2 separate regions of the Homo sapiens genome follow, and region 1 is linked to region 2. Evidence: promoter capture Hi-C in 16 types of primary human blood cells and fetal thymus (Javierre and others, 2016). All regions are on one chromosome and are shown on one strand. The core of a region is centred on a gene start or on the middle of the fragment in contact, and the rest is flanking DNA. Distances in the headings are between cores, read along the strand shown. Region 1 overlaps PPM1F (protein phosphatase, Mg2+/Mn2+ dependent 1F). Region 2 holds the start of CCDC116 (coiled-coil domain containing 116).

Region 1 (5,865 bases), core at 2,750-5,249, 310 kb before region 2:
CTTGGAATTGCAAGGGAGTGGGAGGAGGCCCCAGGCACTGGCAGTTGCTGGGGGCAGCTCTGCATCGTTCACATTCTCCCAGAAGCTCCAGGGGCCAGGGCAGTCCCAGGCAGAAGAGGGGCCCTTGGCCGCTTGCACTGCTTGAGGGCAGCCAAGCTTGCTGGGAAATTCACGCCATCTTCGAATGCCTTACAGCTCTGCTGGGGCATGGCTGGCAGGACGTGCCGCCTCCTCATTGACCTACTAGGGCTCCCAGCCTCTGCTCATTTCTCCAGCTCACAGTCTTCCCTTTGTCGTTTGAATGTCAGTGTCCCTCCTGCTCTCAAAGTGATTTTTCCTTTTTTGCTTTATGTTCTTTTTTTTTCTTTTTTGGTAGAGATGGGGGGTGGGGGGGGGGTGGCGATCTCACTGCCCAGGCTGGTCTTGAACTCCTGGCCTCAAGCACTCCTCCTGCCTCACCCTCCCCAAGCGCTGAGATATAGACCTGAGCCACAGCGCCTTGCCAGTTGTTTTATGTTCTTTATCCTTTTACCTGCTTGCCTTCTGTAACCTGGGTTGCATTAAATTTACTCCTACTTGTGAGTAAATGTGAACCATAGCAATAAATTTAGTCTATCCCCAGAACCTTCAGTAGCAAGCACCCCTATTCCTACGTTATTTGTATGTGTCCACTTTAAATAAATTACCTTTCAATTCTGCCTCTAAAAGAAGAGAAGGGTTTTGTGTTTTGTTAATTTACCACCCTTCACCCCTTGCATTCCAAATCCCTCACTGATCAGACATTTAACTTGGTGCTGGGACCTTTCCCTCTGCCCACCCCATTCTCTTTTGTGTTTTTTATCTTTAGGCTTCCAGAAGGCTTGTTCCAAGTTAGCAATTCCTGATAAGGACAGCCCTCTTGTGGGCTGTGAGCTCCCTGCATCTCTTACTTCCCACTCTCTTCATCCTGCACCTCAGGCCCCTGCCACAGCCGCCCTTTTAGCAAAGTTTGTAGGCAGAGTCTGTGGCTATTCTAAGACTGATGATTCTAGAAGATTCTCCTTGCCTTCTTCGTTCAGTTTTCAGAACCTGGAAGTCCTCATGAAGGTGATGGGCTGTGAAACTGTTCCCCAAATTCTCCACCCTAGAACTCGGGGTGTTCCTCAGAGTCTCATGTCCGTTTGTCACCATAAAAGAATGCAGTTTTTCTCCCTGGCTTAGTAACTGTGTAGGATTTCTTTTTTATTTTTTTCTGGATCCAATCTCATCCACTACTGCGTAGGACTCGCTGAATAAAGTTTCCCAGCCTGAGTGTTAGACAAAGCCCAAGGTGGAGTCCCCGCTGTGGGGAGGGTTTGGAGGGGTCAGGCACCCGAGAGGAAGGGGGCAGGAGAGAGAAGGGTCCATGCTGAGTGGGTGCTGGCAGGGAGGCCCAGGTGTGGGGCCTGGAGGTGAATCCCCGGGGCGACGCAAAGAACATGGAAGGGGGGGCGCTGGAGAGCTGTTTGGGTATAGGCAAGGCAGGCAGGCTGGGGAGGCGACTATGGAGATTCGGAGTTAGGAGAGAAGAGGAGCCAGAGCCACCCTGGGAGGAGGCTGTGAGGCACCATGTGCCTCTTTCCAGTGAGAGAGAAGCCGGTGAGGGAGTGAAGGCACAGGCTTTGCGATCCCTCTTTGGCCCTGTCTTCCTTCTGACACCTCAGGCGAGGGACTAACCCTCTCCAAACCTTGGGATTCTCATCTGTGAAATGGGGGCTTGTCCTGGCTCCTGGGGTGTTAGGGGCAACTCCCAGGGCTGGTCAGCTCTGGTCATCCCTAAGGACTTAGGGAGGAAGAGCCCACATGCCGCACAGTGGGGTCAGCGCCTGGAACTGTCCACAGTGCCCCTCTTCCAGCCAGGGCTTAGCAGGCCTGAGCCATTCTAGGCTCACAATTCCCTCCTCCTATTAGAGAGCATTGAATAGGCTCGATGGTGTCCCACAGCACCTCCTGTCTGTCCCAGATTAAACCTCTGCTTCTCTCCTGGCCACCCCTTGGGTGGCCCCAGCAGCCTCTGGGGATCCCTTCCTGCTCCCACTCTGGCCTATCTCCAAAACAGCCCTGGGCCGGCCTCCCGCATCTTGGCCCTTCTCTTTCCTCCCCTGAACACCACTAGAGCCCCAACAGGTGTCCCTCCTGCCATCTGGTCACCACGTCCAGGCTCACAGACCTGGTGGCTTCACTCCCTCACCTCAGAGCCCTCCTGGCTGCTCGGGACCCGTGATCAGGTTGAACCCCCTCACCTACCTCAGTGCCTGGCCTCGGCATCCCTGTCCTGCTCGTCTCTGGCCACGCTGGCCACCCTCTGCCAGGAACAGTCTTCCTCCTCTGTCACTTCTTGACAATGTCCACCCAGCTGCTGCTCCTGGCACCATCTCCTGAGACCGGATCTCTGGATGCCCACAAGTCCCCACCTGGACTCATGTCAAAACAGTGGCCAGGGTTGTCCCTCCACCCTCTAGTGGCCCTGAACCATGAGGCCATGCACCTGCCACATGGTGCTTGCAGGTGGGCACCTGCATTGCTGGTGCCATGGCCCCCTGATTCTGCTGACTCTGACATTTCTCCCCAGGGTGAAGCCTGGAGACCCTCTTGCCCTGGCCTAGCTGCAGGCCCCCGGGATGCTTTGGGCATGTCCTCTGGAGCCCCACAGAAGAGCAGCCCAATGGCCAGTGGAGCTGAGGAGACCCCAGGCTTCCTGGACACGCTCCTGCAAGACTTCCCAGCCCTGCTGAACCCAGAGGACCCTCTGCCATGGAAGGCCCCAGGGACGGTGCTCAGCCAGGAGGAGGTGGAGGGCGAGCTGGCTGAGCTGGCCATGGGCTTTCTGGGCAGCAGGTAGGCCTGTGCACCCCCAAAGGGGACGGGGAGTAAGGGCACGGCACCAGGGCCGACAAGGGATGTGGCTGCTGCTCCCCTACACGTCCAGCCCCACACGGGGATCTGCAGCCCCGGATCCCTATGCAGCACCATGTGGAACTCCCGTGGCTGCTATGGCAAAGCACCACACACTGGGCACTCAACACAGCCAAAGCTCATTCTTTCACAGGGCTGGAGGCCAGAGTCCAAGATCAAGGTGGCAGCTGCGCCATGCTCTCTCAAAGGCTGCAGGGAAGAGTCTGCCTTTCTGTTAGTGCCTGGCCTTGACTTCCTGGAGGTCCTTGGCTTGTAGACTCATTCCTCCTAGCTGGCCTTGTTGCACACGGCATCTCCCCATGTGTGTGTCTGTGCCTTCACACCTCCCCACCCTGCCTGCTGTGTGTCTGTGACTCCTCCTCTTGTAAGGACATGGGCATTTTGGACCAGGGGCTGCCCTCCTACAGTGTGATCTCATCTTTCTTTTTGTGGAGAATGGGGTCTCGCTATGCTGCCCAGGCTGGTCTCGAATTTCTGGGCTCCATGGATCCTCATGTTTTTGCCTCCCTAAATGCTGGGATTACAGGCATGAGCCACTCCAGCCAATGTGACCTCATGTGAACATAACTAATTACATTTGCAAAGACTTTAACTCCAAATAAGATCATATTCTGAGCCACAGGGGGCTGGGGCTTCAACATACCTTTTAGGGAACACAATTTATTGCATAGCAGCTGATAAGCAGTACGTCCTGTTTCCGATCCGTGTGATGGACGAGGAGGCAGAGGTGGGTAGATGAAGAGGCTGGCCTGAGGCCTTACAGTCAAGGAGTGGCAGAGCCACATGGCACCCCAGCCACCACGATCTGAGAGATAGCTGGCACTGTCCCCCTTCCACAGGTGAGGAAGCTGAGGCACAGAGAGGTAGCACAACTAGCCGAGCAGATTTCGGGGAAGATAGAGAGTTGGGTGTCCACCGGCAGACAGTGTGTAGCTGTCGCCTAGGCTGAACTCAGAGGTCCTTTCCTTGGAAGACCCTTGCCCTCCCCTTCATTTATTCATTCATTCTGGAAGCATTTGTCCCATGAAAGATGGTGAAGGACAAGGTCTTTTCTCGAACCCTCTCTGCTCAGACAGGGTCTTGGAGTTAGGCTGTCTGTCTGGCACAGGGGACAGCTCATGGAGGTGAGCAGGCTGGTGGGCCGCGTGCTGTTTCTGTGAACCTAGTCCCTTGCTGAGGGGATGTGCGCATGGTCCCCAGTCCCAGCATCACCCAAATCACCTGAAATATCACCTGAAGCCATGACAGGCCCTCAGCCATAGCTCCCTCTGACAGAGCCACCATCCTCGGTGGCTGCCTCAGTATCCCCCAAGTGTGCACTTCCTTTGCCCCTTGCAGCGAATCAACTCTGTTCCTGACACCCACCAAGGGCCTATTTTCCTTGACCCCAGGCCCTAGCAGAGTCAGTGACTTGTGCTCTCCCTGTGCAACATGGGCACAAACATTGCTAAGTGTCAGCCACATGCAAGGGCTATGCCACCCAGCATCCCCCACAGCTGCCTAGAGCTCAGGAGGAAATGTCCGGTGACCACGCTCCATGAGGTCATGGCATGCGCAAAGGGTGTTATTGGCTTGTTTTGAGGAAATATTTTAGATATGTGGCACAAAGTGAATCAGCCCCCAGTGGTGGAGCAGAGTGGGCCCAGCAGGGGTGCCAATGCACGGGAGGTGAGGAAAGGCCTCACGTTCTGCCTTCTTGAGAGGAGCAGGTGGCACTCTGCAGGGAGCAGGGGAGTCCAGACCAGGGAGTTCTGCAGCCACTGGGTCTTCGTGGAGGTGGCATGGGGCCATTGCTGCCTTGAGGCAAAAAGCCAGGCCCGGGACAGAAGGGTTGGTGCACTTTGGCCCAAGCATGAGGTGACCGGGCAAAGCCAAGCGGTGCCAGCCCCAAGCTGGGGATCAGATGGAAAAGCCATCCCGGGGAACAACAGAGCCCAGGGGTTTGCTGGGCCTGCGTGGGGCACAGGTGCTGAAGACGGACAGGCCGCAGCACCGGGGTGACAACATCAGCCTTCAGTTCCTGGGCAGGGGGAGAAGGGCGCAGAGCAGGGTCCCAGGGAAGGATCCAAGGTGGGAGGGCCTGGAGGGCTGAGGAGTGAGTAGGCAGTGCAGGTGACCTGCCCAGGAGGGCCCCGAACCAAAGTGTTGGGGTCAGTGCTGGGGGCGCAGGGGAGGGCAGTGGGTTTTGGTTTTGATGCGAGAGCAGCCAGACTTGTTGAGCGGCTGCTGTGTGAGCCACCTAGTGATGGGTGCGAGCAGGAGGGGTGCAGAGCTCCCGAGTCTCCTCAGCCCCCAGGAACCCACCTTACATGGTGAACTAAAATGGAGTATTTGAAGTTGTTATATGTTCCAGCCATCTTATTGGATTTATTTTTTAAGTTATTTTTGTTCTTTTCTAGCATCTTCTTTCACACGCAGGTGTGGATGTGCATAGGTGTAGTCAGCACTTGGGGTCTGAGCCTCACACGTTGTCTACACTAAGCCTGGCTGTCCACACACACGCACTCACATGTGCCCATACACAGTCACGAGTTCCACCTCCGAGCTCTGCTTCCCGTGTCCCAGCCTGAGGAGGGGCTCTTGGGCATGAAGGGCTTTGAGCATCTTGGTCCCTGAGCTCTTTCACAGACCGTAAAAGGCATCCTTCTGGAGGCCATCCAGGAGTCAGAACATCCAGTCCACAGGGGGCTATTTACGCCTTGTCTCCGCTCTTGTTTGGAGCCTCCTGTCACATATTTGAGTCCCTGAGCAGTGCATACCGTACACTAATGATTTGAGTGTGGTTTTTGTCTCTGCCACTAGACTATAAGCCTCTTGTAACAGCCCCTGCCCCAAGGTCGGTGAGACGTGTTTCTCAGGCACCTGGGCCTTGCATACACCTTGGCTTGTCCCTGGAGCATCTTCTTGCCTTGTGTAGGAGCCTGCTCTGCA
Region 2 (5,381 bases), core at 2,877-5,376:
TGGCTGGCAAGTTGGTGTAGAGGGAGCGGCAGGGCTCTGTGGCCTGGTCCTGGGCAGTGTGGGTGGCTGGTTCCTGCTGCACAGAGGGTGTCTCTGTGCTGCAGTGGGAGGTGCTGAGCCGGGAGGCCTGCCGGGCCCTTTTGGACTCCTCCAGTTTACGCAGCAGGCAGCTCCGGTGGGTCTCCGAGGACAGGTGGATGCGGGAGCCTTTTACCTTCTTTAAGCCCAGGGAAAGGTCCCTGAGCACGTGGGTGATGGGGAAGGAGAAGAAGCCCAGCTGCTTACTGAGGTCCTTTTCGAACTCGTACTTGCGGATGACCAAGGAGGCTGCCTGCTGGGTCAGGAAGTCGGCGAGCTCCTCATAAAGGCGGTTGGAGAAGTGAGACATGCTGGACTTCGACGAGATGGAGGGCAGCGGCTTCTTCTTCGTGAACCTGCTGCTGCTGCAGGGGCTCTGCATAGCAGCCGGGGAGGGAAAGGGACACATGTCACACCTGCCAGCCCCATCCCTCTGTGACACCCCTTCCAGCCACTGTGCCCTCCTCAGAGCCCTGCCAGCCCTGCCCATCACAAACATGAATGGGTACCCTTAGTGTGACAAACACATTTGCCACACGAAGGGTACAGCCTTACCACACCTGCTATGCTGTTGCACTCAACTGCCCACTCTCATGCTCACCTCGCCATCACACCTCCTACAACTGTTGGGCCTGGGGCAAGGGCAGGGACCTGTCACAGGGTAAGGCTAATCTGAGCCTTGACAACTGGGTTTGGGCAGGCTCCTGCCCAGGCCTGTGCCCAGAGACAGCTGCAGGGGCCTTGATGGCTGAGGAAAGGGTCGAGGGACCGTGCTGGAGACCCACCAGTGTGAGGCCACCTACGTCTTGTACACATCCTCCCTGGGCAACTTCCCCTCAGCAAAGTCCAGGGACTGGAGAGTCCTGCTCGAGGCAGCTGGATTCAAGGGAGCTAGACCTAGGAGGCAAGGCCCCGGCTGGGCTTGGGCTGCTGTCCACAAGGGACGGGACTTTCCACCCCCATGTAGGAGCGTCTCTAGATTCACATACAAACGTTAGAAAAAATACCCAGCATAAAAAATAGCCTTTATTTATCTGTGACAACACCTGGTAATAGCTAGGCCAGGATTCATGGGCCCCCATCAGCTTGACCCCTGCCCAGGAGGTTTCCACAGTGCAGGGCAAGAGACCTTGACCTTGAGCACCTGTTAGTGACAGTGGCTGCTAGGAGTGGTGGGTCAAGGAGCCCTTCTCCTGCAAACTCATGCCCGGTCCTACTTTTGAGGAGGTCACCTCTGGACACAGTGAGGCGGGAGATGAAGAGGCAACTGGAGAGAGCTCAGGGAGAAGGTAGCAGGAAGAGCGGGGGTAGGGGGAGGAAAGTGGAGGTGTGACAGGGCCCCTGAGGTGGCCCTGGCTGCAGGCCACCTCCACCACAATCCCTGGCGTGGGCAGGGTGAGGTGCAGGCCCTGCCAGGGCTGGGCCCTCTGGCTGGAGCTCAGGGAAACAGGTGGGTTTTGTAATTTGGGATCTGAGTCAGGTGCCTCCTCCCTGGAGTGGAGTGAGGGGCTGGGGACATTGGGCTTCTCCGTGGGTGTCACCTTGAGTTTGAATCTGGTGGCCACCTGGGCACTAGACATGGAGGGGGAGCCTCCTCTGTCCTTGCGTTTTCTCTGAAGCATCTTGGGGCTGGAGACTGTGGGGCGGGGGGAAGCATAGGGCTGCCCGCCATTGGTGGGTTTAGCTGGCTCAGAGCCCAGAGGCGGCAGATCTGAGGTGGGCTCCAAGCTGGTGGGGAACAGAGGACGGCCGTCGCGGCAGTGGGCGCCACGGAGCTTATCCACAGCCTGGCTGACCACGCTTTGCAGGGCAGGGAAGAGGCGGTGGTCAGCCAGGAAGTTCAGCGTGCGATGGGGCTCACGGAGCGGACAGTAGCCAGGCAGGTCGAGGGACTCCAGCTGGCTCAGTAATGACTTGATCTCCTTATTGAACTCTCGCTTGCGGAAGATTGGCTCCTGTTCTCCAGGCCTCGGCTCTGATGCTTCAGGCACGCCAGAGCTTGAGCCCAGCAGCCCTGAGAACCAGGACAAGGGCTGCTCCTGTGTCCACTGAAAGCTGGTCTGGCTACCCAGCGAATCCCACAGCAGGGAGTCCCTCTGGGAGCAGGACTGACTGAGGCCTTTCTGCAGAAAGAGGGTGACTCTGTGAAGTGTTCAGGAGCAGCCAAGCCAGGGCTGACCCTAGCCCTGGGCTCTCCATGGGAGTCCACCCCACCCAGCCATGGCCCTGGCTCTCACCCCTTCCCTCTCCAGCTGTAGCAGCCGCTTGAGGTTCTTCTCCAGCAGGAGTTTGTCCCTCACAGGTGGCAATGAGCCTTGGGCACCTAGGTCACTGTCCCGGCTGTGGGAGCCCAGACAGCCGGCCATGAGGCTGCTATGGCAGTTGGACATGGAGCTGGAGCTGGATGGGTAGTTGTTGGGGTGTCCAGTGCAGAGGGTCGGCCGTACACGGTGCCGGTGTACGGTGCTGAGGCTGGGCCGGGCATGTGCCCGCCGTCCACCACTTGGCACCTCCACTGGGTCCTGCACCTCCACAAGCGGCACCCCAGCCTCCGTCTTCATGGCAGCCATGCGCTCAGTCGCCTTCTCCACCACTGTCTCCAGGCTGTCCAGGACCTGGCTCTCAGTTAGGAAATCCAGAAAGTGGCCAAAGGGCTGAGGGTGCCTCTTGTTTCGGCGTTGGCCCTGGAGTGCTGAGCTGCCACATGTGGATGGTGGGTGTGGCACACGGCCCGGCTTGCAGGCTGGCCGCATTTCTGGGACCAGTGGCTTCTTGGGCAGCTGCACCTGAGCAGACAGGTATGTCACAGGGGGCAGGGGTGCCCTACAGGTGAAGGGTTCCCTGGGGTAACACTAGGACCTGGGTGGGAGTGAGTAGTGGAAGGAGCTGCATTTTGGAGTCTGGAAGCCCTGGGTTTGGACCCTGGCTCTGCCACCTACAGCCTGATGCCAGTGTGCAAGATGGCCCCTCTTGAGGTCCAATGTCCTCATCTGCAAAGTGGAGGTCTATTCAGGGTCACCCCGAAGCTTTCCTAACACCTACATTTCACACACACAAGTCCTGGCTAAGGAGTCTGCAAGCCTGCTTCTGCCCTGACACGTGGCAGGATGAGCAATCATGAATCTCTCGGAGTCTCCCTCCAGCTCCTCATCTGTCCATGCAGCAGGCCATCCCTGTATCCATGGCAGGGCTGCAAACAACATCTGAGGTCTTGAGTGCAGACAACACCTGAGGTCTTGAGCCCTGTGCTACCCGGGCCTGTTTCTCCAACTTGAGCCATAGGCACCTAGTCAACTCCATGCTCCCACTCTAGGGTCCCAGTCCACCCAAGCACCTTCTGGGTCGCTGGAAGTCAGGAGGAAACAAGGAATGAAATTGAGTGTGACAGGGGCAAGCAGTGGGGGACATAGGAGAAGTCAAGGCAATAAGGACTTCACTAAGAGGCCCAGAGAAGTCAATAGACAATGAGAAATGGGGGTTGTGGTCTTGGGTGCCAGGGTTGGTGGGGAACATGTTGTGGCCTCAAGGGTCGGCGCCCTGCTGGGCACACTTACCCGTGCACTGCACATGGAGTGGCTGGCCTCGTCATCGGCCAGGTAACCCGAGTGGTGGCGGCACCTGGCCATGTGGTCACCTGGCAGGTGACCGGGCCTGCTGCCCACCTCTCTCTTCAGCTGCGCATTCCTCTCTGCGTGGGGTGGGGAGACAACCTGAGGGTCTCCAATAGGTCCACGCATCTGTGGCCCTGGAGTCTGCGGGTCCCTCGCTCCCCGCACCCCGCCTCCTTCATGCATCCAGCCCTTCCTCTGCTCCATGGCCCCCATGCGTCTGCAGGCAGGCAGTTTCCAGAGTCATCGGGGTGGAATCGCTGAGGACAATCCTGTCTCCGATCATCTTTGGATCTGCGTGTGCTCGACCCGCCCTCCTCCCAAACCCTGGGCAACCTGGCTTTCACCCCAGCCCAGAATCAACAGACTCACCAGAAACACCGCCTTGCTCCGCACAGGCCAGTACAGTCTGCGCCCTCACTGGAGCAGCTGCACAGTGCGAGGAAGTCGGCTGGCGGCCTCCACTTGCTTATTTGCATACCACATCCTCATTGGTTCTTACCGAGGAGCTCGTCCACTTCCCTCTCCGACACAATGGTTGGGGGCGGGGCCCACATTGGCCCCACCTCCAATTCTCTGGGCTCTGCCCTCCCACACTCGCCTGGGAGCCGCAGGCTGAGGATGCTGGTGCCCACGCTCCCCGCTGCCGGGAGGACCCCCCACCCACCACCGAAGCTGGGGCTAGGCTCTTTGATCTGCTCCTGCCCCGAGGGGAGCCTAAAAGCCAAAGCCACGTCTTCCACCGGTGGCACAAGCACCTTCCTCGTGTCCTCCTTGGTTGCTGCGCAGCCCTGGGCCTCCTGCTCCTGTTCGTTTCCAGGGGCCTCTGCCCTTCCCGCGGTGTGCACAGCCCCAGGTTCTGCCTTGAGACCTCTCCCCTCTGCAGTGGAAAGAGTGCCGGCTCTAAGTCACAGACCTAGCTTCAGTTCCTGGCTCTGCTCTTTCCTGCCAATGTGACTCAACCTCTCAGCATTAGTCCCACACTGTAAATGGGCTTGAGTGTTCTTCCAATATGGGAGTATGGGATTCAATAAAATCTCCCTACAGCACACCCAGTAACCCAGTGGAGCCTTGTGTATTCTTTAATTAATTAATTTATTTATTTGGAGACGGGAGTCTCGCTCAGTCGCCCAGGCTGGAGTGCAGTGGCGCAATCTCGGCTGACTGCAAGCTCCGCCTCCCGTGTTCACGCCATTCTCCTGCCTCAGCCTCCCGAGCAGCTGGGATTACAGGGGCCCGCCACCACGCCCGGCTAATTTTTTTGTAGTTTTAGTAGAGATGGGGTTTCACCGTGTTAGCTAGGATGGTCTCGATTCCCTGATCTTGTGATCCGCCTGCCTTGGCCTCCCAAAGTGCTGGGATTACAGACCTGAGCCACCGCGCCCAGCGGAGCCTTGTATATTCTTACCTCCTCTCCCTCCCTCCTTTTCCCCTTTGCTCAGTAATACCCCACCATGGTGTCACTTCTTCCAAAAACCTTTTACTGTGAATTCTGCCACGCCCTACGCAATTCACAGTAAACCCCATTCCAGACTCTACCATACCATGTTGCTACTTATTTTTCTATCAGATGGTGCTTCTTTGGGGCCAGAACAGAGGCAAGTCACCCTTAATCTCTAATACTTTCAGTGTCTGGCACCAAGTAGGTGCTCAATAAATGTCAGTCTCCTCCTTCCCACCTGCAGACCCTCGGGA

Evidence for each region. Contacts are between HindIII fragments. The CHiCAGO score rates a contact against its expected background, and 5 or more counts as called.
Region 1: a contact is called between a fragment that was not itself captured here and the fragment with the promoter of CCDC116 in region 2, in 2 of 17 cell types (neutrophils and erythroblasts). The highest score is 6.4, in neutrophils.

What each region holds. Positions count from the first base shown.
Region 1 is chr22:21,942,834-21,948,698 of GRCh38, reverse strand. PPM1F (protein phosphatase, Mg2+/Mn2+ dependent 1F) reads left to right here. Exons shown (of 8, transcript NM_014634.4): 2 at 2,591-2,856. The coding sequence starts at 2,651. It overlaps PPM1F-AS1 (PPM1F antisense RNA 1), which reads right to left. Exons shown (of 2, transcript NR_147620.1): 2 at 5,265-5,865. Among named protein-coding and RNA genes, the nearest start is that of PPM1F, 7.1 kb to the left of the region's middle. RefSeq lists an enhancer at 4,265-4,764. The HindIII fragment of the contact is 7,682 bases long and covers 159-5,865 here.
Region 2 is chr22:21,631,505-21,636,885 of GRCh38, reverse strand. It overlaps CCDC116 (coiled-coil domain containing 116), which reads right to left and starts at 4,126. Exons shown (of 5, transcript NM_152612.3): 1 at 4,059-4,126; 2 at 3,633-3,766; 3 at 2,316-2,864; 4 at 1,620-2,201; 5 at 1-454. The coding sequence starts at 3,704. RefSeq lists an enhancer at 3,895-4,394. The HindIII fragment of the contact is 2,744 bases long and covers 3,107-5,381 here.